7 separate regions of the Homo sapiens genome follow, and regions 2, 3, 4, 5, 6 and 7 are each linked to region 1. Evidence: promoter capture Hi-C in 16 types of primary human blood cells and fetal thymus (Javierre and others, 2016). All regions are on one chromosome and are shown on one strand. Each heading gives the region's core, a stretch centred on a gene start or on the middle of the fragment in contact. The rest is flanking DNA. Distances are from core to core; before and after follow the strand shown.

The links. Contacts are between HindIII fragments. The CHiCAGO score rates a contact against its expected background, and 5 or more counts as called.
Region 2: a fragment that was not itself captured here is called in contact with the fragment with the promoter of TTC9 in region 1 in 6 of 17 cell types (naive CD4 T cells, activated CD4 T cells, total CD4 T cells and 3 more); the score reaches 7.5 in naive CD4 T cells.
Region 3: a contact is called between a fragment that was not itself captured here and the fragment with the promoter of TTC9 in region 1, in 2 of 17 cell types (non-activated CD4 T cells and total CD4 T cells). The highest score is 5.1, in non-activated CD4 T cells.
Region 4: a fragment that was not itself captured here is called in contact with the fragment with the promoter of TTC9 in region 1 in 2 of 17 cell types (total CD4 T cells and non-activated CD4 T cells); the score reaches 6.3 in total CD4 T cells.
Region 5: a contact is called between a fragment that was not itself captured here and the fragment with the promoter of TTC9 in region 1, in 5 of 17 cell types (total CD4 T cells, naive CD4 T cells, activated CD4 T cells and 2 more). The highest score is 7.0, in total CD4 T cells.
Region 6: a fragment that was not itself captured here is called in contact with the fragment with the promoter of TTC9 in region 1 in 1 of 17 cell types (non-activated CD4 T cells); the score reaches 5.7 in non-activated CD4 T cells.
Region 7: a contact is called between a fragment that was not itself captured here and the fragment with the promoter of TTC9 in region 1, in 6 of 17 cell types (total CD4 T cells, naive CD4 T cells, non-activated CD4 T cells and 3 more). The highest score is 12.2, in total CD4 T cells.

The regions. Positions count from the first base shown.
Region 1 is chr14:70,640,558-70,643,314 of GRCh38, reverse strand. It overlaps TTC9 (tetratricopeptide repeat domain 9), which reads right to left and starts at 1,399. Exons shown (of 3, transcript NM_015351.2): 1 at 780-1,399. The coding sequence starts at 1,185. It overlaps TTC9-DT (TTC9 divergent transcript), which reads left to right and starts at 2,017. Exons shown (of 3, transcript NR_110071.1): 1 at 2,017-2,307. RefSeq lists silencers at 845-914, 935-1,124, 1,345-1,494 and enhancers at 1,965-2,224, 2,325-2,504. The HindIII fragment of the contact is 1,411 bases long and covers 155-1,565 here.
Region 2 is chr14:71,002,809-71,005,508 of GRCh38, reverse strand. All of the region lies in intron 8 of PCNX1 (pecanex 1), which reads right to left. Among named protein-coding and RNA genes, the nearest start is that of PCNX1, 97 kb to the right of the region's middle. The HindIII fragment of the contact is 5,736 bases long and covers 1-2,700 here.
Region 3 is chr14:70,940,816-70,943,515 of GRCh38, reverse strand. All of the region lies in intron 1 of PCNX1 (pecanex 1), which reads right to left. All of the region lies in intron 2 of LOC105370557 (a long non-coding RNA gene), which reads left to right. Among named protein-coding and RNA genes, the nearest start is that of PCNX1, 35 kb to the right of the region's middle. The HindIII fragment of the contact is 1,267 bases long and covers 759-2,025 here.
Region 4 is chr14:71,020,917-71,023,691 of GRCh38, reverse strand. PCNX1 (pecanex 1) reads right to left here. Exons shown (of 36, transcript NM_014982.3): 13 at 460-492. Among named protein-coding and RNA genes, the nearest start is that of PCNX1, 110 kb to the right of the region's middle. The HindIII fragment of the contact is 751 bases long and covers 936-1,686 here.
Region 5 is chr14:70,983,064-70,985,763 of GRCh38, reverse strand. The region is part of intron 6 of PCNX1 (pecanex 1); the gene reads right to left. Among named protein-coding and RNA genes, the nearest start is that of PCNX1, 77 kb to the right of the region's middle. The HindIII fragment of the contact is 3,468 bases long and covers 1-2,700 here.
Region 6 is chr14:70,911,390-70,914,259 of GRCh38, reverse strand. The region is part of intron 1 of PCNX1 (pecanex 1); the gene reads right to left. Among named protein-coding and RNA genes, the nearest start is that of PCNX1, 5.4 kb to the right of the region's middle. The HindIII fragment of the contact is 727 bases long and covers 1,010-1,736 here.
Region 7 is chr14:70,963,883-70,966,803 of GRCh38, reverse strand. The region is part of intron 3 of PCNX1 (pecanex 1); the gene reads right to left. Among named protein-coding and RNA genes, the nearest start is that of PCNX1, 58 kb to the right of the region's middle. The HindIII fragment of the contact is 3,015 bases long and covers 1-2,828 here.

The DNA.
Region 1 (2,757 bases), core at 150-2,649:
TGGAATGTACACCTTCTTTGCCCAAGAGTAGGGCCCCCTTTTCCTTCACCCCTAGCAGCCAGCTGGCGTGAGGACTGATGCTACACATAGTGAGAAACGGGCAGGGAGGAGAGGGAGAATGCAGCATAGTTCAAGCCCAACCATGAACCAAGCTTCTTTTGAGATAGAGATCTTCACCTGGCAACCGGGAGCCCCAGCAGAGCTCAGAGAGAAGAAAGTGGCATTCTGGAATCCATTTTGCTCAAGATGCTGAAGGCATGGTGTCAAACTCCCCTTTGCTACTGGGGCCAAAAAACTTGGGGAAGATCTTACCTACAGGGATGCGGTTAGTTGGGGAAAAGGCGAGGACCAATCCTGGTGCTCATGCTACCTAAGGAGAGCAGACAGGTGCGTGGCCTCCCTTGGGACCCACCCGCAGGAAAAAGCTGGGCTAGCGGTGGCTGCGGGGGCCCACCCCGGGCGCTGCTTCCGCATTTTGGACCCAGGTCCACTGGTGAGCAGTAGCAGCAGCAGCCATAGCCAGGCCAGCTGGGTCCCCTTCCAGTCATTTCTAGGTGAGATTTACGATGTATGCTAGCGAAGGGACAAGAGATGATTATGGCCTTTGAAAGGCATAATCCTGAAAGTCACACTTTTTCCAAAGCGCCTCCCTCCCGGGTTCTCCCCAGAGCAACACAGTCACAGCAGGAGAATCTGCACCGCGGGAGCGCCGCAGTGGTCCGCGGAGGGACCGGGCCGAAGAACGGGGACCGCGGCGCGGGGGGCGCGGCGCGGCTCACCTGCCAGGCTGTTGTAACAGTCGATCTCGATGGCTTCCACCGTCTTGCTCTGCTCCTCCGAGAGGCGGCCGGGCTTCAGGGCCCCAGCCGGGGAGGCCGGGCGCGAGTCCCGCTCCCGTTCCCCGGGGGGCGGCAGCAGCCCCTTCAGCTCCAGCAACGCCCGGTGGTATTTGCCTATGGCTTCACGGAATTTCTTGTCCTTGTAGCACTGCGCCCCTTGGCTTTTGAACTCGTGCGCTCGTCGGATGAGCTCGGCCGGCTCGGCCGCCGCCCCGACCTGGCCCCTCGCTGGGGCTCCTCCGCCGCCGCCCGGGACGCACAGCGGCGGCGGTGGCCGCTGCCCCTCTCCGGCCGCGGGCGGGCTCGGGTTCCCCTTGGCCCCGGCCGCCGAGCCCTTTCTCTCCATTCGGCCGCCGCCCCGGCGCCTGGTGCGCGCCGCGATCTGCCCGCCGCCGCCGCCGCCGCCGCGCCTTCCCGGGTTTAAAAGCCGCGGGCGCCGGCCCCGCGCCTCGCAGGCTTCGTGGCGGCCGTGACACCCCGCGGCGGTCTGGCGCCCCGCACTCCCATTCTCCCCGCTGCTGCCAGAGGCTGCTCCAGCCGCCGCCGCCGCCGCCTCGGACGCCGGCCCCTCCCCCGCCTCCCGGCTCCGCGCCGCCCGCTCCCGCCCTCCTCCCTCCGCAACCTGCGGGTGGCGGGGGCCGGTGCTCGCGGGCCCGGGACTAGCGCTGCGGGGGGACCGTGGCCCCGAGTGGGGTGGCGGGGATGGTCGCTGACCCGGAAGAAGCTTGGCTTGCCCGAAGGAGGGGAGGATTAATGACAAAGACGGCCCCGCTCTTTCCCATTCAATCCCGCTCTGCGAGGCGCGCCTAGTCTGAAAGGAGGTGGGGGGAGGGGGGTAGGTGTAGGGGAAGGGGAGTGTGTGTGTGTGCGTGTGTGTGTGTGTGTGTGCGTGCGTGTAGGGATGGGGGGCGGCGGCGACGAAATGCGTGCAGAAATAGATTTCTTAACTACAAGAAAAGGTGCGGCAGGGAACAAGGGGCGCAGGCGCAAGCCGTAGCTGCTAGTTCTTTGCAGTAAGGTGTTAGTATTTTTTAAGGGGGCAGGGCCTCCTTTTTGTGGATCCAGGTTGTCGCTGAGGTGTGTCTCGGTGTGTGTGGTCGCCGGGGCGTCCAGAACGCGACGGGCGGTACAGCGTGTGGGGCGCCGTATTCTGGGAGCCTGTGTATGCGTGTGCTGTGTGCGCGCAGCTGTGCAGGATGAATCACAGACATCAGAGATGGAGAACACCTGTTACTGTGGGTCATCGGCTTGGCGTGCGTCCGGTCTAGTTTCCATTTACAGGACAGTTCTGTGCCCTTCCTCAGGAGGTCCCATTCCTTCCTTCTTTTGGTCGGTTCTGAGTGTCAGCTGTCTACTGGGGATCTGCTAAGGCTAAGAGGCAAAGATAGGCAAGTCACTCCCCTGACCTCAAGAAACTCCCAGTCTACAGGCGAAGATACACCACCCACCGGTAGAGTCGCTGGACCAGGTACAGATGGTGCCTGTCATTGGGGAGGAACGAAAAGTGCTGTGCAGCCCTGAGGGGGGGAGGGAGAGGTAGCTTTTTGAGTAGTGGTAGATCAGGAGGCTTTATGGAGGAAATAGCATTTGAGGACCTTGAAGGCTGGGTAGGATTTGGCATGAAGAAGTAGAAGGAAGTGGCATAGCCGGAGTGAGGAAATCCAGCGGAAGTCCTGATGTTTGAAATCTCAGGTGTGTTTAGGGCATAGTGGTTTGATTTTATAGCCTAATGAGAAGTAGTGGGAAATGACGGGGTTGGATTATGGGGGCTTTTGGATGAAGAGTTTGGATTTGATTTTGGAGTCAATGGAGAAGCCTGACATATTTTTTAGTGCCCTCCCTTCCTTAATGTTAAGAAAAAGAAAGATTCTAGAGCACCGGTTGTCAGAGTGCTGGCCCCAGACCTGCAGTGTCAGCA
Region 2 (2,700 bases), core at 153-2,652, 360 kb before region 1:
TTAGACAGAGACTCACTCTGTCACCCAGGCTGGAGTGCAATGGCACAATCATAGCTCACTGCAATCTCAAACTCCTAGGTTCCAGTGATCCTCCCACCTCAGCTTCCTGAGTAGCTGGGGCTGCAGGCACACGCCACAGTGCCTGGCTTACTTTTTAAAACTTTTTTGTAGAGATGGGGGTCTTGCTATGCTGCCCAGGCTGGTCTCGAATTCCTGGGCCTAAGTGATACCTCCTGCCTCAGCCTCCCAACGTGCTGGAATTACAGGTGTTAGCCACCACGCCCAGCCTGTTGCATTCTTGACATCACTCATTTTTCTAAAGTTACCTATATGTATCTTGGAAGGAGGTGGTTACTAGAACAACAAATCATCCATAGTGTTTTTCTAATCTTCCAAGTACCAACAACAAAAGAGGTCTCTTAAATTTCTTGGATAATTTTCTTCTTTAACCACCTACCTCCCCCAACCTTCCCTTCATTCTGTGTCCTCCAAGCCTGATGCACTGTCTACACTGACTTCTCTTTTTTTAAGTATTACTCATAGGGCAGAGAGGGGCTATAAAAACAAAGAGAGATATATGGGCAGTAAATGTATAAAGTGAGTTTTTAAAAGACATTTGGGGGAACATATACATTCTATATGACTGAAGTACTCAATAATAGAAATGTTATTCAAGAAATAATCTGATGGAGATAGCACTGTGTTCATAATGCAATCTCAATGAATATATTATACTTTTAAAGAGAAGGCCTTTAAGATCAATTCTAATTTCTTGGATAGCACCCCCCTTATAATCATAAGTGGTGACTCAGTTTTTACCCACACAGAAATTACTCACTATATTGCTGCTTACTGGTTAATGCAACGGTCCCCAACCTTTCTGGCCCCCAACCTTTCTGGCATAAGGGACCAGTTTCATGGAAGATAACTTTCCTATGGATCCAGGGGATTGGAGGACGGTTTCAGGATGAAACTGTTCCACCTCAGATCATCAGGCATTGGATTCTCATAAGGAGTGGGCAACCTAGATCCCTTGCATGTGCAGTTTACAATAGGGTTCATGCTCCTATGAAAACTGAATGCTGCCACTGACCTGACAGGAAGCGGAGCTCAGGCAGAAATGCTCGCTCCGCACACCCTGCTCACCTCCTGCTGTGCAGCCCTGTTCCTAACAGGCCGCAGATCCATGCCAGTCCATGGCCTGGGAGTTGGGGACCCCTGGGTTAATGGACTTGTTTCTCCCTAGATTAGGGGAGAAATAAAAAGGTCAGAAAACTTTTCCTGTGAAGGGCCAGATAATACATACTTTAGGCTTCATGGGCCAGATAACCTCTGTTGCAACAATTCAAGTCTACAACTGTAACATGAAAGCAGGCATAAGACAATACAGAACATAAACACAAATTTTATTTATTTACAAAAACAGGTAGGTATAGAGCTGGACTTAGCCCACAGGCGGTGGTTTACTAACACCTGTCCTAGACCAAGAATCTTAGGCTCCAAAAACTTCTTTAATCCTCATGATACAATGGAAATCAGGTCACTATGTCCTTGTAACTTCAAGTTTCAATATTTAGAACAAGTCTTTTTTCTTAGTATGTGCAATGCTGTTCTAGCTTTTTAAATCAGAAGGATAAGGAAAAGGTAGGTATAAGAAGAAAGTCTGGTTTAGAAGACAGCTTTGGGGACTGGTAAGGAAAGACAGATATCTCTATTGCTTGGCAACTATAAGTGAGATTTACATACTGATATATTTTACTGACATGGCTATCTGATTATCTAGTTCTGAGTTAATAAAACATGCCTTAATTAATTGTTAAAAACTCCACTCCTGCTTGCTAATCCCCAAATCAGCTGAACTTTCCAAAAGTGAATGTACAAGTTCATATTTTGCTGTGATTTCATTATCCACTCACATTTTATTTCAAAAAGACAAGTTCTTCTTACTTGGGTAAAATAATCTATAATAACGACATTGATGACATTAAGACTGGTCAGGTAAACAAAAAGACAAGCCACAGAATGGGAGAAAATATTTGTAATTTGTATCTGACAAATAAGTTGTATTTAAAATATCAAAAGAACTCATACCTCAACAGTTAGAAGACCAACAACCCAGGCTGGGCGCAGTGGCTCATGCCCGTAATCCCAGCGCTTTGGGGGGCCGAGGCGGGCAGATCACCTGACGTCAGGAGTTCGAGACCAGTCTGACCAACATGGCAAAACCCCGTCTCTACTAAAAATACAAAAATAAAAAAATAGCTGGGCACGGTGGCACGCACCTGTAATCCCAGCTACTTGCGGGGCTGAGGTAGGAGAATCGCTTGAACCCAGGAGGCAGAGGTAGCAGAGAGCTGAGATTGCATCACTGCACTCCAGGCTGGACAACAAGAGTGAGACTCTGTCTCAAAAAAAAAAAAAAAAAAAAGAAGACAACCAACAACCCGATTTTTAAAATGAGTAAATTTCTGGACACACTTCACAAAAGAAGATATATATGTATGTGGCCAATAAGCACATCAAAAGATGCTTACTATCTTTAGTCATAAGAGAAATTCAAATTTAAACCACAATGAGTTACCATTCTATACCCATTATGTCTACAATTCTAAAGGCCAACAAAAGCAAATGTTGGCAAGAAAGGGAACTACTGGAATTTGGTGGTGGGGATGTAGAACTCTTTTCAAAAAGACAGTTCAG
Region 3 (2,700 bases), core at 143-2,642, 300 kb before region 1:
CCAGATATCCTACATCATTTCTCTCAAGTTCAAAGTTCCACAGATCTCTAGGGCAGGAGCAAAATGCCGCCAGTCTCTTTGCTAATAAAGCATAGCAAGAGTCACCTTTATTCCAGTCCCTAATAAGTTCCTCATGTCCATCTAAGACCATCTCAGCCTAGACTTCATTGTCCATATCACTATCAGCATTTTGGTCAAAGCCATTCAACAAGTCTCTAGGAAGTTCCAAACTTTCCCACATCTTCCTGTCTTCTTCTGAGCCCTCCAAACTGTTCCAACCTCTGCCTGTTACCCAGTTCCAAAGTCACTTCCACATTTTTGGGTATCTTTTCAGCAGTGCCCCACTACCTGGTACCAATTTACTGTATTAGTCCATTCTCATGCTGCTATGAAGAAATACCCGAGACTGGGTAATTTATAAGGAAAAGAGGTTTAATTGACTCACATTTCTGCATGGCTGGGGAGGCCTCAGGAAACTTACAATCATGGCAAAAGGCACCTCTTCACAGGGCAGCAGGAGAAAGAAGTGAGTACCCAGCGAAGGGGGAAGCCCCTTATAAAACCATCAGATCTGGTGAGAACTCACTATCTCAAGAACAGCATGGGGGAACCACCCCCATGATTCAGTTATCTCCACGTGGTCCTGCAGTTGATATGTGGGGATTATCACAATTCAAGGTGAGATTTGGGTGAGGACACAAAATCAAACCATATTAATCACCAAATGATGTAATCAATCATGACTACATAATGAAGCTTCTATAAAAACCCAAAAGGCTTGGACTCAGGAGCTTCATGATACCTAACACATGGAGGTTTCTGGAGGGTGGCATGCCCAGAGACAGCATGGAAGCTCCAGGGCCCTTCCCACATGCCTTGCCTCATGCAACTTTTCATTTGTATCCTTTGTATTAATAGTATCTCCAGGTAGACAGTGTCAGAATTGAATTGAATTGGAGGATACCCAGCTGGTATCTGCTGAAGCACCTGCTGCAGAAATTGGTTGACTGCTTGGTGTGTGGGGACACCCCCACACATCTGCTGTCAGAAGTGTTCTGTGCTGTGATAGCATAGTAGGAGAAGAGTTTGTTTTTTCTATAGCCTCTCAACTTGCAAACATTTGTCAGATAATTTAAATCCTTAAAAATGAATACTAAATTTACAAGTGCAATTTGATAAGGTCTTTATTTAAAAAAAACCTTTTTAATTATTGTTAAAATATGTTAGACCTGTAAAGAGTTGAGTTTAAAATTCTTAGTTGTAAGATGGCCGAATAGGAAAAGCTCCAGTCTACAGCTCCCAGCGTGAGCGATGCAGAAGACAGGTGACTTCTGCATTTCCAAATGAGGTACAGGGTTCACCTCACTGGGGCCTGTCGGACGGTGGGTACAGCCCACAGAGTGTAAGCCAAAGCAGGACTGGGCATCACCTCACCCGGGAAGTGCAAGGGGTTGGAGAATTCCCTTTCCTAGCCAAGGGAAGCTGTGACAGATGGCACCTGGAAAATCGGGACACTCCCACCCTAATACTGTGCTTTTCCAATGGTCTTAGCAAACAACACACCAGGAGATTATATCCCACGCCTTGTTCGGAGGGTCCCACGCCCACAGAGCCTCGCTCACTCCTAGCACAGCAGTCTCAGATCAAACTGCAAGGCAGCAGTGAGGCTGGGGGAGGGGCGTCCGCCATTGCTGAGGTTTGAGTAGGTAAACAAAGCTGCCAGGAAGCTCTAACTGGGTGAAGCTCACCGCAGCTCAAGGAGGCCTGCCTGCCTCTGTAGAATCCACCTCTGGGGGCAGGGCATAGCTGAACAAAAGGCAGCAGAAACTTCTGCAGACTTAAACGTCCCTGTCTGACAACTTTGAAGAGAGTAGTGGTTCTCCCAGCACAGAGTTTGAGATCTGAGAATGGACAAACTGCCTCCTCAAGTGGGTCCCTGACCCCCAAGTAGCCTAACTGGGAGACACCTCCCAGTACGGGTCGACTGACACCTCATACAGCCGGGTGCCCCTCTGAGACGAAGCTTCCAGAGGAAGGATCAAGCAGCAACAATTGCCATTCTGCAATATTTGCTGTTCTGCAGCCTCCACTGGTGATATCCAGGCAAACAGGGTCTGGAGTGGACCTCCAGCAAACTCCAATAGACCTGCAGCTGAGAGTCCTGACTGTTAGAAGGAAAACTAACAAATAGAAAGGACATCCACACCAAAACCCCAACTGTAGGTCACCATCATCAAAGACCAAAGGTAGATAAAACCACAAAGATGGGGAGAAACCAGAGCAGAAAAGATGAAAATTCTAAAAATCAGAGTGCCTCTTCTCCTCCAAAGGAATGCAGCTCCTCGCCAGCAATGGAACAAAGGGACAGAGAATGAGTTTGACGAGTTGACAGAAGTAGGCTTCAAAAGATCAGTAATAACAAACTTCTCCGAGCTAAAGGAGGATGTTCGAACCCATCACAAAGAAGCTAAAAACCTTGAAAAAAGATTAGACAAATGGCTAACTAGAATAAACAATGTAGAGAAGACCTTAAATGACCTGATGGAGCTGAAAACCATGGCATGAGAACTACGTGATGCATGCACAACCTTCAGTAGCCGATTCGATCAAGTGGAAGAAAGGGTATCAGTGATTGATCAAATGAATGAAATGAAGTGAGAAGAGAAGTTTAGAGAAAAAAGAGTAAAAAGAAAAGAACAA
Region 4 (2,775 bases), core at 62-2,561, 380 kb before region 1:
CAAAGTTTTTATTCAATGGTCTTAACACCAGACTCAGGTATTACTTCTTTATTCTTGCTCCTAATGGTTACTCAAGTGAAATAATATAAAGTTTTTCCTACTTCAAAATTCTATTTTCAATACCTATTCATAAGCTATTATTCAAAATGTATTAAACACAAATAATCATGAGTTTATAAGAACCATGTCTACTCCCTGAAACAGACTATCAAAAAGTGAATTATCATGCTCATTTTCAACCAAGATTTAGAGTCCACAAGTACAATGTCATTTTATTTCAAGCTAACAAAACACCTATATTTCTAGTAGTGTGTCAAAACATAGATGAGGAAAATAATAACATAAATTTTAGTTCAGGCTGATGCATTCCAAACAAAACAAAAAAACAAAAAACAAACCACAAATATTATGATAAATGTTAAGGACCTATAATGTACAGCCATATTAAGAGTGACTTACATGTCTGGGAGAAGAAGAATCTGGTTGAACACTCTAAAAATGAAACAGAAAGACAAATTACACTCCTGAAGTCTTGCTAATTTTACAACCAACTTTCAAAATGCCTGAAATGAATGATTTTAAGTAAATATTCCACAACCACAAAATGACCTATATTAATAATTCTGTTCCAGAGATGAAACATCAGCTCCAGATACCAGTGTCACTGTGATATTAAAAACATATCAAATCTTTCCTGATAAGAGTCAGGAAATAAGATTATTATGTATTTATTTGTATCTATCTTAAAGTTTCTGCAATAGCATATGATAGACAGAGCCATCTTACTGTTTGGCTTATTGCTATATACAAGTGGAGTTAAGGTATACTAAATACAAGTATAGTATTTCTCACAGGACATCATTCATTCAGGAAATATACAATAATAGGGGTTCACTTATAACAACAATTCTAGTTCTGCCCATAAATTCCAAGCTTACTAAATAATTCAATGGTATTTGTAATAAAGATATTATCTGCATTTTCATATCAAAATAATCAAATAAGTTAAGCTGTATCCTTTTAAGAGATTTTATTAACTTCCCATAAAAATGTTCAGAAGGTATTATGCAGCTACTTCCCTACTCATGACTTTTCTCCCAAGTTTCAGTTCATTTCCAATGGCATACCATACAATTTCACTAGGATTATCTATCACCACCCTACCATTCGATACTGGGCCAAGCTCACTGAGTTTGGCATTTGGCCCTTGGCTAGATTTGACTCCAGATAATCTTTAAACTCTTTTAACCACAGCGCCTATCTTCTAAATGCTTCTGTTCTTGTCTTTCTTATCCCTGTTTATGACATTATTATTCTTCTAGTCAACTAGTTGCAAAAATCTGTCACCTTTTACCTTTTCCATATTTAACCACATTAACCTGAAAGCAGTGGACAAAATTAATTGGACCATGGAGACACTAGAGCCGCAAAATGAATTTAAATGATTTAGGGCACTAAAGGTATAGTGCAAGACTGACAACCAGTAATTTTAATATACAATCATTAAATGTCATCAAAGGGACTGGGTTACTTGTTATTAGTGATCAAGGAGGAAGGAGCAGTGACTCAAAGATTTTTAGCAGGTATATCACTGCCAAAAGCAAAGATATTGGGAAAGAAAAATTAACCAGGAGATGATTAATTTGCTATTTTTAAAATGTCTGTTAGATACACAGGACTAAAGCTTGCAAAAGAGGTGAAGACTTTGAGATATAAATCTGGAAATAACTCATATACAAAGGCAACAAATAAAGCAATAAAAAAGGATGACTTCACTGGAAAGGAACTGTAAACCGAGAAGATAACCACATAAGTCCTAGAGAATTCTCATAAATTAAGCAGTTGAAAGAACAAAGAGGGATCAACAAAGGAAAAGAGAGTCATCTGAAAAGTGAAAGAAACATGAGGGTGGTATAAAGTCATGATCAAAAATGAGGAGAATATCAAAATGGAAGAGTATACATAGGTATTAAATGATGTAGCATTCATAAAGCATGGAGACTTAAGAAAAGCAATTTAGCAATTAGAATGATCATTAGCAACCACAAAGACTATAATTTCAGTACTGCAATGAGGAAAGTATGGATGGGTCTTAAAGAAATAAAGCAGATGACCTAGGTGGCTTACTCCACATGTCTAGCTATAAATGGAGAAGAGAAAGAAAGGATGGACAGCTGTTAGTAAAAACAGAACTATGTCAATGGTTTTCCAGCTGTGGGAGGGCTTCTCTTCAAGGAGAACTACAAACCACTGCTAAGGAAATAAGAGAAGACACAAACAAATGGAAAAACATTCCATGCTCATGGATAGGAAGAATCAATATTGTGAAAATGGCCATACTGCCCAAAGTAATTCACAGACTCAATGCAACCCCTAGCAAGCTACCACTGACTTTCTTACAGAATTAGAAAAAACTACTTTAAATTTCATATGGAACCAAAAAAGAGCCCACATAGCCAAGACAATCCTAAGCAAAAAAAATAAAGCTGGAGGCATCACGCTACCTGACTTCAAACTATACTACAAGGCTACAGTAACCAAAACAGCATGGTACTGGTACCAAAACAGATATAAAGACCAATGGAACAGAACAGAGGCCTCAGAAATAACACCACACATCTACAACCACCTGATCTTTGACAAACCTGACAAAAACAAGCAATGGGGAAAGGATTCCCTATTTAATAAATGGTGTTGGGAAAACTGGCTACCCATATGCAGAAAACTGAAACTGGACCCCTTCCTTACACCTTATACAAAAATTAACTCAAGATG
Region 5 (2,700 bases), core at 200-2,699, 340 kb before region 1:
GCAGATAGTGAAAAATTAGCACTCTAGTACAACTAAACTTTATGCATGTGTAGGTAAAAAAGAAAAAACATGCAAGCAATTCAAAAACCGTGAATGACAAGAAGTATAAAATACTTCCAAGGGTATATATCCAGAGAGTTGTATATTTTGAAATGTATTTTTTCTAACGTACAAATCTCAACTTTCTAATCATTTATTTGTGTTAAAAAGACTGACTTCACAATCATAATAAGTTTAAGAGGAACCTTCAGGCCTGGCGCAGTGGCTCACGCCTGTAATCCCAGCACTTTGGGAGGCCGAGGTGGGTGGATCACCTGAAGTCAGGAGTTCGAGATCAGCCTGACCAACATGATGAAACCCTGTCTCTACTAAAAATACAAAAATTAGCGGGTGTGGTGGCAGGCGCCTGTAATCTCGGCTACTCGGGAGGCTGAGGCAGGAGAATCACTTGAACCCAAGAGGCGGAGGTTGCAGTGAGCCAAGATCGTGCCACTGCACTCCAGCCTAGGCAACAAGAGTGAAACTCCATCTAAAATAAAATAAAATTAAAAACAAAATAAATAAAATAAAAATAAGAGGACCCTTCAGATAATTTAGCTGTTTCCTTTTGTTATACTGATGCAATCACTCAATTAAGTTTAAGCATTTACTAAATGCCTAAGTTCAATTCATGGACAAACCAAAAATATCCTCTTACATTTTAGACAGCTGTGATCTGGTCCATTCCTGAAGATAACAAAGGAAGTTTAATCCATAATACATACCTCCCACCTCAGGAGTTACTTCACATTTATCTCAATGAGATAAGGAAAATTCTACACATTCTAAAATGAATTATTTTAGTGCAACTATTTATTTTTTATGGTAGTATTACAATTATAGACTATCAGTTGGTTCTACTCTGTGAATAAAAGCATAGAAAGCATTAAAGGCACTAATATACTTTTAGAATAGCTGGGATGCCCAAAGAGCAAAATTTAATGAGGTAGGAGGTAATGGCTATCCAAATTCTATCTCAAAAATTGGAAGCTGTGAGTATAAATACACACAGATAAAGATGCTATTTAAAAATGATGTCGGCAGGTCGCGGTGGCTCACGCCTGTAATCCCAGCACTTTGGGAGGCCGAGCCAGGCGGATCACAAGGTCAGGAGACTGAGACCATCCTGGCTAACACGGTGAAACCCCGTCTCTACTAAAAATACAAAAAATTAGCCGGGCGTGGTGGTGGACGCCTGTAATCCCAGCTACTCGGGAGGCTGAGGCAGGAGAATGGCGTGAACTCAGAAGGTGGAGCTTGCAGTGAGCCAAGATCGTGCCACTGCACTACAGCCTGGGCAACAGAGTGAGACTCCGTCTCAAAAAAAAAATGATGTCAATCATATACCTGATTAATTTATGAAAGAAATAATATGTAATAAGTCACTTTCTAGTTGTCATGTACTGCTATGGTTGGCATCTTGCAGTAGCTCAATTTCAATTAAATTAATAAAAATTTAGACAGAGGAAATTGCTCAAGTGTTCTTTCCAGTGAGAAATGTTTATCGTGGGGGGAAAAGGTGTAAATCTGGAAAGATCACGAAAATAAAAATAGGCATTTAGTACTTCAAAAAGATCAGAAAAAATGCTATTAGGAAATTAAATTCTTAAGAAAGATGACAAAAGTATGAAACAAGTATATATATATCTCAGAAAAAGAAAAGGCATCTGCAAACATTCTGAAACACATTGTAATGTTCAGGATAAAAGGGATTTTACCCAACAACAAAATTACTATATAAAGACATAAACATTCAAGTAATTTTGCAAAAACATTCTAAAAGGAATGTTTTAGTCTAGGCATGAAATCCACTTTATCTAAATAGTTTTTCCCTTTCTTAGTTTCTTTGTCAGCCAAGAACGATGCTACCATCAACATACAAAGATTTTGTTCCAATGAAAAAACAAATGCTTTTCAAGCTCATTCTTGTTGGAAATAACAAAAAATAAGTAAATAAATAAATGTTTTTAAGTGTCATTTTCTGGGAAGCCAAACACTGCCCAATTTCTAAGCATCAATTCTGAATTAAAATAATTTCCATCTGTGAAAACATTTTAAAGGACTGGCCTACTTTTTGACAAGCCAAGGAACCAGAGCAAACAGTAACAAAATTATTAGCTATGGGTGGGCACGGTGGCTCACGCCTGTAATCCCAGCACTTTGGGAGGCCGAGGTGGGCGGATCACAAGGTCAGGAGTTCGAGACCAGCCTGGCCAATATGGTGAAACCCCATCTCTACTAAAAATACAAAAATTAACCGGGTGTCGTGGCGGGCACCTGCAGTCCCAGCTACTCGGGAGGCTGAGGCAGGAGAATCGCTTGAACCTGGGAGGCGGAGGTTGCAGTGAGCTGTGATTGTACCACTGCACTCCAGCCTGGACAATAGAGTGAGACTCCGTCCCAAGAAAAAAAAAAATTATTAGCTGAGCTTTGCGTTAAAGATAATTTGCACATCCTTACTGATATTTTCCACAAGTCCACCAGCCAAACAAATATAGCTTAAGTATTACTTATACTTTTATAGGTGATTTCTAATCCTTTTTAGTCCTTTGTGAATGGGATGAAAGATATCAACCCGTTAGATACAATTTTGCATCCACTTTCAGGAGAGTCCCTTAATAAAGGGTCAGTAGTGATGAACACATGTATTCGAAGTGACAT
Region 6 (2,870 bases), core at 124-2,623, 270 kb before region 1:
ATGATCCTGTCACCCAAGTAGTGAACACAGTAGCCAATGTATAGCTTTTCAACCCTCGCCCCCTACCCGCTTTTGGAATCCCCAGTATTTATTGTTCCCTTCTTTGTATCTGTGGGTATCCAAATGTTTAACTCCCACTTATAAGTGAGAACATGTGGTAGATGGTTTTCTGTGTAAACCATCTTTGGACAGTGTACCCTTAATTTATTATAGGTAATATAATACATAAGAGTTATATCTGTGCCATGACCAGTTATGGAAATAATTAGACTCACTTTGATCCTAAATATTGAAAATACTGGTAAAGGGCACAGGCTAATAGATCTAAACAGGCCATCCACTAGTCATTAACCTTCCCCTAAAGGATGCAGAAAATAATACTTAAAAATCATATGTACAATATGCAATAGCAATATAAATTGCTAATTTATAGCACAGTAACTTTTCTAGCTTGATCTAAACTTTTAGAGAAATATAAATTTTAAAATATGAAAATCCCTGTTTTAGTCACCCTAACTAAATCTTGTTTAAAATGATCTTTAAATACTTTTAAATTGGGGGAAAGAAAATGACCTGAGAGCTTTAGCGTAATCCTCACTAATAAAAGATATATCATTCTAAAGATGACAAAGATCAGTTACAGAAAACAATGAAGACAACTAGGAAGAAAATGTTGAAACCTTTATAAATTTTGTTAATGATTTAGAGTCTGAATATAATCTCTCCACAGATTTATGTGGTATATATTACTGTATATATCATGTATGTATGTATAACCACACAGCTGTATGCACAAAAAGCCATACGTACTGCACTTTCAATGACTTAAGTGTTTTTCAAGGGTCATTTTGTATTTGATTTTTCAGTAATTTTATATTTGATTTTTGTCTTGTAGAGACTGACACCGAACCTAACCCCTAAGTAAGCAGCTCCACCATATGATACAGCCTACCACAATCCTCCCTCCACCTCCAACTATTCTACATCAGTTAACAAGTCTAAAAAAGCTTCACATGTATAATAAAAAATTCATTCAACAAATACTTCTTCAGATCCTAATATGAGCCAGGCAGTCATGCAGACACTTGATAAACACTGATGAGTAAATCAGACCTGGCCCCTGCCCTCATGGAACTTACAAGGTATGGAAGTGGAGGATGATCGAGAGGACAAACAAGTAAACAAACAAAAAATATATGTTTGTGTTAAGTGCTATGGAAGAAAGTTATGGAATGGAATGATGAAAAAAAAGAGAGGGAACCTATTTATGGTTATCAGGCTCAGCCTCTGTGAGGGGATAATACTGAAGTCCAGCCCTAAAGATTAAGTAGCAGCCAGCCTTGCAAAGAGCAAGAAGGAAGAGTATCCTTTCAGAAGGCACAACACGTGCAAAGGTCTCACAGGAGGAAAAGGCTCAGTGGGCTAAAGTAACAGAAAGGCCAGTGTGACTACAGCACAGTGGGAAAACTGCACAAACTGTAAACAAAGGCAGAATAAGCTCTGGTGGCTTAATAAAGATTCTGGATTTTTTTCTAAGTGCCAAAGAAAATCTTTAAAGAATATTTAAAAGAATGACACAGATTTATGTCTTTTCCTCTGAGCAGAAAGTGGTAAGATTTGCTCAAAAGCAAGGGGTGGGGGATAAGCAACTAGATACAGACAGTGCCATTAACTAACATGACAGAGTGAGGAAAAACATTTTGTGGCAGTGTTGTTTAGGGGGGAATTCAGAAGCTTTTGGGCATGATACTTTTGGGATGCCTGTGAGACAGCCAAGAGGTACGTTGAGTAGCAGCTGGATGTCAGTCAGGGGCTGGTAGTTAGGAATATTGATCAAGTTATTTAAACTTACCTAGAATGTTTATAAAATACAAATCAATAGGCCACACTCCAGATCTACCGAATAAGAAAGGGCTTGCACATCATTAACATTGTCAAGTGATTCTGATGTCAACTGGAGGAGTCTGGGAACCACTTACGTAATAAATTTTAACGTTCTTTTTTTTCTTTTTTCTTTTTTTTTTTGAGACAGAGTCTCGCTCTGTCGCCCAGGCTGGAGTGCAGTGGCACAATCTTGGCTCACTGCAAGCTCTGCCTCCCAGGTTCACAACAGTCTCCTGCCTCAGCCTCCCGAGTAGCTGGGACTACAGGCGCCCGCCACCATGCCCGGCTAATTTTTTGTTTTTTTAGTAGAGACGGGGTTTCACCGTGTTAGCCAGGATGGTCTGGATCTCCTGACCTCGTGATGATCTGCCTGCCTCGGCCTCCCAAAGTGCGTGAGCCACCGCGCCCAGCCATAAATTTTAATGTTCTATTTCATCACCTAGGGATATATTGCTTTACAGAGGAAAACAATATATTGAGCAATATGTTATGAAAATGATTTGACTTAATAATCCAGAGCTATTTAGTCTCCTACAGTCATACAGCATTATAGAGGAAACACTTCCAATTAGCCATTTTTTCAAATGACATTTACTGAAGGCCATTCTGAAGGTAAATAATTTCTTCTATTTCATAAATATTTTCTTGAAAAACACCCATGAAATATCTCACAAATGAGTAAATCAAGGTTCAGAAAGGTGGAGTCTTGCCCACAGGACACACAATCAATAACAAAGCCAAGATTCAAAAATCAAGACACTAATTCCAATCTGCTTTCCACCATACAAAAATGCCACTCACCCCCAAAAATCTCATCATCTGTGACATGTACAAAAATCACTGTAACTAGATAAAAAAGAATGAGTACCTTAAAGGAAACAGACAGGACAATCAGAATTAAGAAACAAAAATTTTTTCTTCATTTTCACTACTTAAAAGATTTTTAACTAGTTGATGTATATAGAGTCCACCTTTCAAAGTATCCA
Region 7 (2,921 bases), core at 72-2,571, 320 kb before region 1:
AATTTAAAAACAAACAAGAAAACAAAAACACCATTTTATGCATACCCATCTAGGAATTTAAACTTAAAAAAAAAATTTTTAAACACGGATATGGTAGTCATTTGCTCAGAAGCTCAAAGTATTCCCTTTCTCCTTCTTTAACAATCTCCCTATTTTGTTCCAAAATTGGTCATACACCTTCTGATATATGAGAAGTACACCCAGTCCCTGGTCTAGAGGTAGGTGTATGAACTAGTTCTGGTGAATGAACGTGTGGGAGAATCTGCTGGAGGGCTTCAGGAAAACGTCTTTGTGTGTCTGAGAAGAAAGTGATCAAGGAAAATCTCTGTCCCACACTACTGCTTGCTTCCTAACTTTTCAAACAGGGTCTTGATTGAAGCTGCTGTGCTCATCCTGCAACCCTGAGAAAAAAGCCTAGAGAACTGCAGAGATGCCAATCCAGAGGCCTAACGTTAGGCTGCTGAACACAAATGCCACACAATCACCTCCAGATTTAGGTGAAAAACAACTATTTCTTTAAGTCACTATTAGTTGAGTATTCTATTACTTGTTGACAAAAACATTCTTAACAGGTATAATAGAGTGGTTATATTTTATTCTTCATACTTTTCTGCATTATGCTTCCCCTCAAAAAGAATCATGACTATTTACAAGTGAAACAACAGGGCTCCAGAATATAAACTATAGTATATCCAAATGCAATGCATTCCCCAAAGTGTCACTGTAGAAAAACACTTAATGATATTAATGCTCATGATACAATCAATTATGACATAGATTATTTTAATTTTCCTGTTTGCCCTCACTCATTAAATTTCCTAAAAATGAAAATGTAAAGATTAAGAAAAAACAGTATCTTTTTACACTTGAGGGTGAAGTTTTTTATTTAAGTGCTTTGCATAAACTAAAATATTCCACTGTTTCTTCTCTATGACAAGTGCCATAGGAAGGATTATGGATACCAGGGAAGAAAGGTTACTTCTAACTAGAGAGCATATCAGGCAAGGCCACCTGCCCCAAGAAGCCATGCCTGTCTCTCCAGCTGGAAACAATTATTTTATCCTATGAAATCATTAGCTCTTCTTCTCTACCATTCCTATGGCAATTTTTACTTCGTTATCTTTTTTTTTTTTTTTTTTTTGAGACGGAGTCTCACTCTGTTGCCCAGGCTGGAGTGCAGTGGTGCCATCTCAGCTCACTGCAACCTCCACCTCCCGGGTTCAAGCAATTCTCCTGCCTCAGCCTCCTGGGTAGCTGGGAATACAGGTGCATGCCACCACACCCAGCTAATTTTTTGTATTTTTAGTAGAGACGGAGTTTCACCATACTAGCCAGGCTGGTCTCAATCGCCCAACCTCGTGATCCACCTACCTCGGCCTCCCAAAGTGCTGGAATTACAGGCGTGAGCCACCGTGCCTGGCCCCTTGGTAACATATATCACATCTTTATCTTTGGTTACTTATATCACACCTACTATGAGATCACAATCTCTTTCAGTATAAGACCCACTCCCCAACCCACACTAAGTAGAATGCCTTGAATACTATTGGGCGCTAAAATATTTGAAGGTAGAAAAGTGACAAAAGGAAAGAGAAGGAGGTAAGGAGAGGAATGAAAAGAAAGAATGGAAATGATGGGTAGAAGATGAAAGGGAGAAAGGCAGAGGTGAAGGAAAGAATAGTAACAATGACCACGATGTAGCTACTATGGTCAGTGGGTTCACTGTTTAGTACCCAACAAATTTATATAAAATATGATAATGTGTAGCAGTATCTTACACATTATATAATAAAATACATACAAGAAACAACAGTATGTCTATAATGGTAATATCTCCAGCAATATGCAAAAAGCCAGACTCTTCCTCCTCACTTCAGCTTCTCTAAAGTGTAAGAATAATTATGTCAACCATTTATTTTGTCATAAACAGTATAAAACGAAAACACTAAAATCCAAGTAGCACAATAACCTCCAATATTTGCCCATTTTTATTAAAAAGTTATTAAGTAAAAGGTATGCTGTGTGTTTAACAACATGCACACATGCTTTAATCACAGTCAAAAAGGGACTCCCTCCCTAAAACAAACAGGCAAGTTCCAACAGACACGATGCCAAGGTCACAGGATCCAAAAGTGCCTGGCCACTGCTGGCCCTTTCATCTTTCCTTTTTGTAAAAAGGAAAAAAGGTCTCCAAAAGATGATTGGAGAAATGTAGGCTTACTCTCTGGGGGTCTGATACTACCTACGTCTGTCAATAAGAAGAAAGCCCAGGGTTAATTAAGAATACAAGACATGCAGCCATATTCAAGAATTGAGTTATTTCATTCTATAAAAAGAGACAGAGAAACACAAGGCCAACAAAAAAACAGGATCAAGGATAGTAACCCTTGTCTTCAAACAGGCATTGTAAAATTTGAAACAAAAAGTATCAATCTAAGGCTGGGCATGGTGACTCACATCTGTAATCCCAGCACTTTGGGAGGCTGAGGTGGGCAGACCACCTGAGGTCAGGAGTTCGAGGTAGTCTGGACAACATGGTGAACCCCATCTCTACTAAAAATGCAAAAAAATTAGCCAGGTGTGGTGGCAGACACCTGTAATCCCAGCTACTTAGGAGGCTGAGGCACGAGAACAGCTTGAACCTGTGAGATGGAGGTTGCAGTGAGCCAAGATTGTGCCATTGCACTCCAGCCTGGATGACAGAGCAAGATTCTATCTCAGAAAAAAAAAGTATCAATCTAATTAATATGTCATAGCTCTTTTCACATTCTTTAAACAAACAAACAACAACAACAAAAAAACTCTTGACATCTCCCATTCCATAAGCTTGTTATGGAAGGAAGATAAATTTAACAACCTACATGTTCTGTACTCACTAGATCAGTCCGAATGAGCCGCATGATACAGTGATGAACACACAA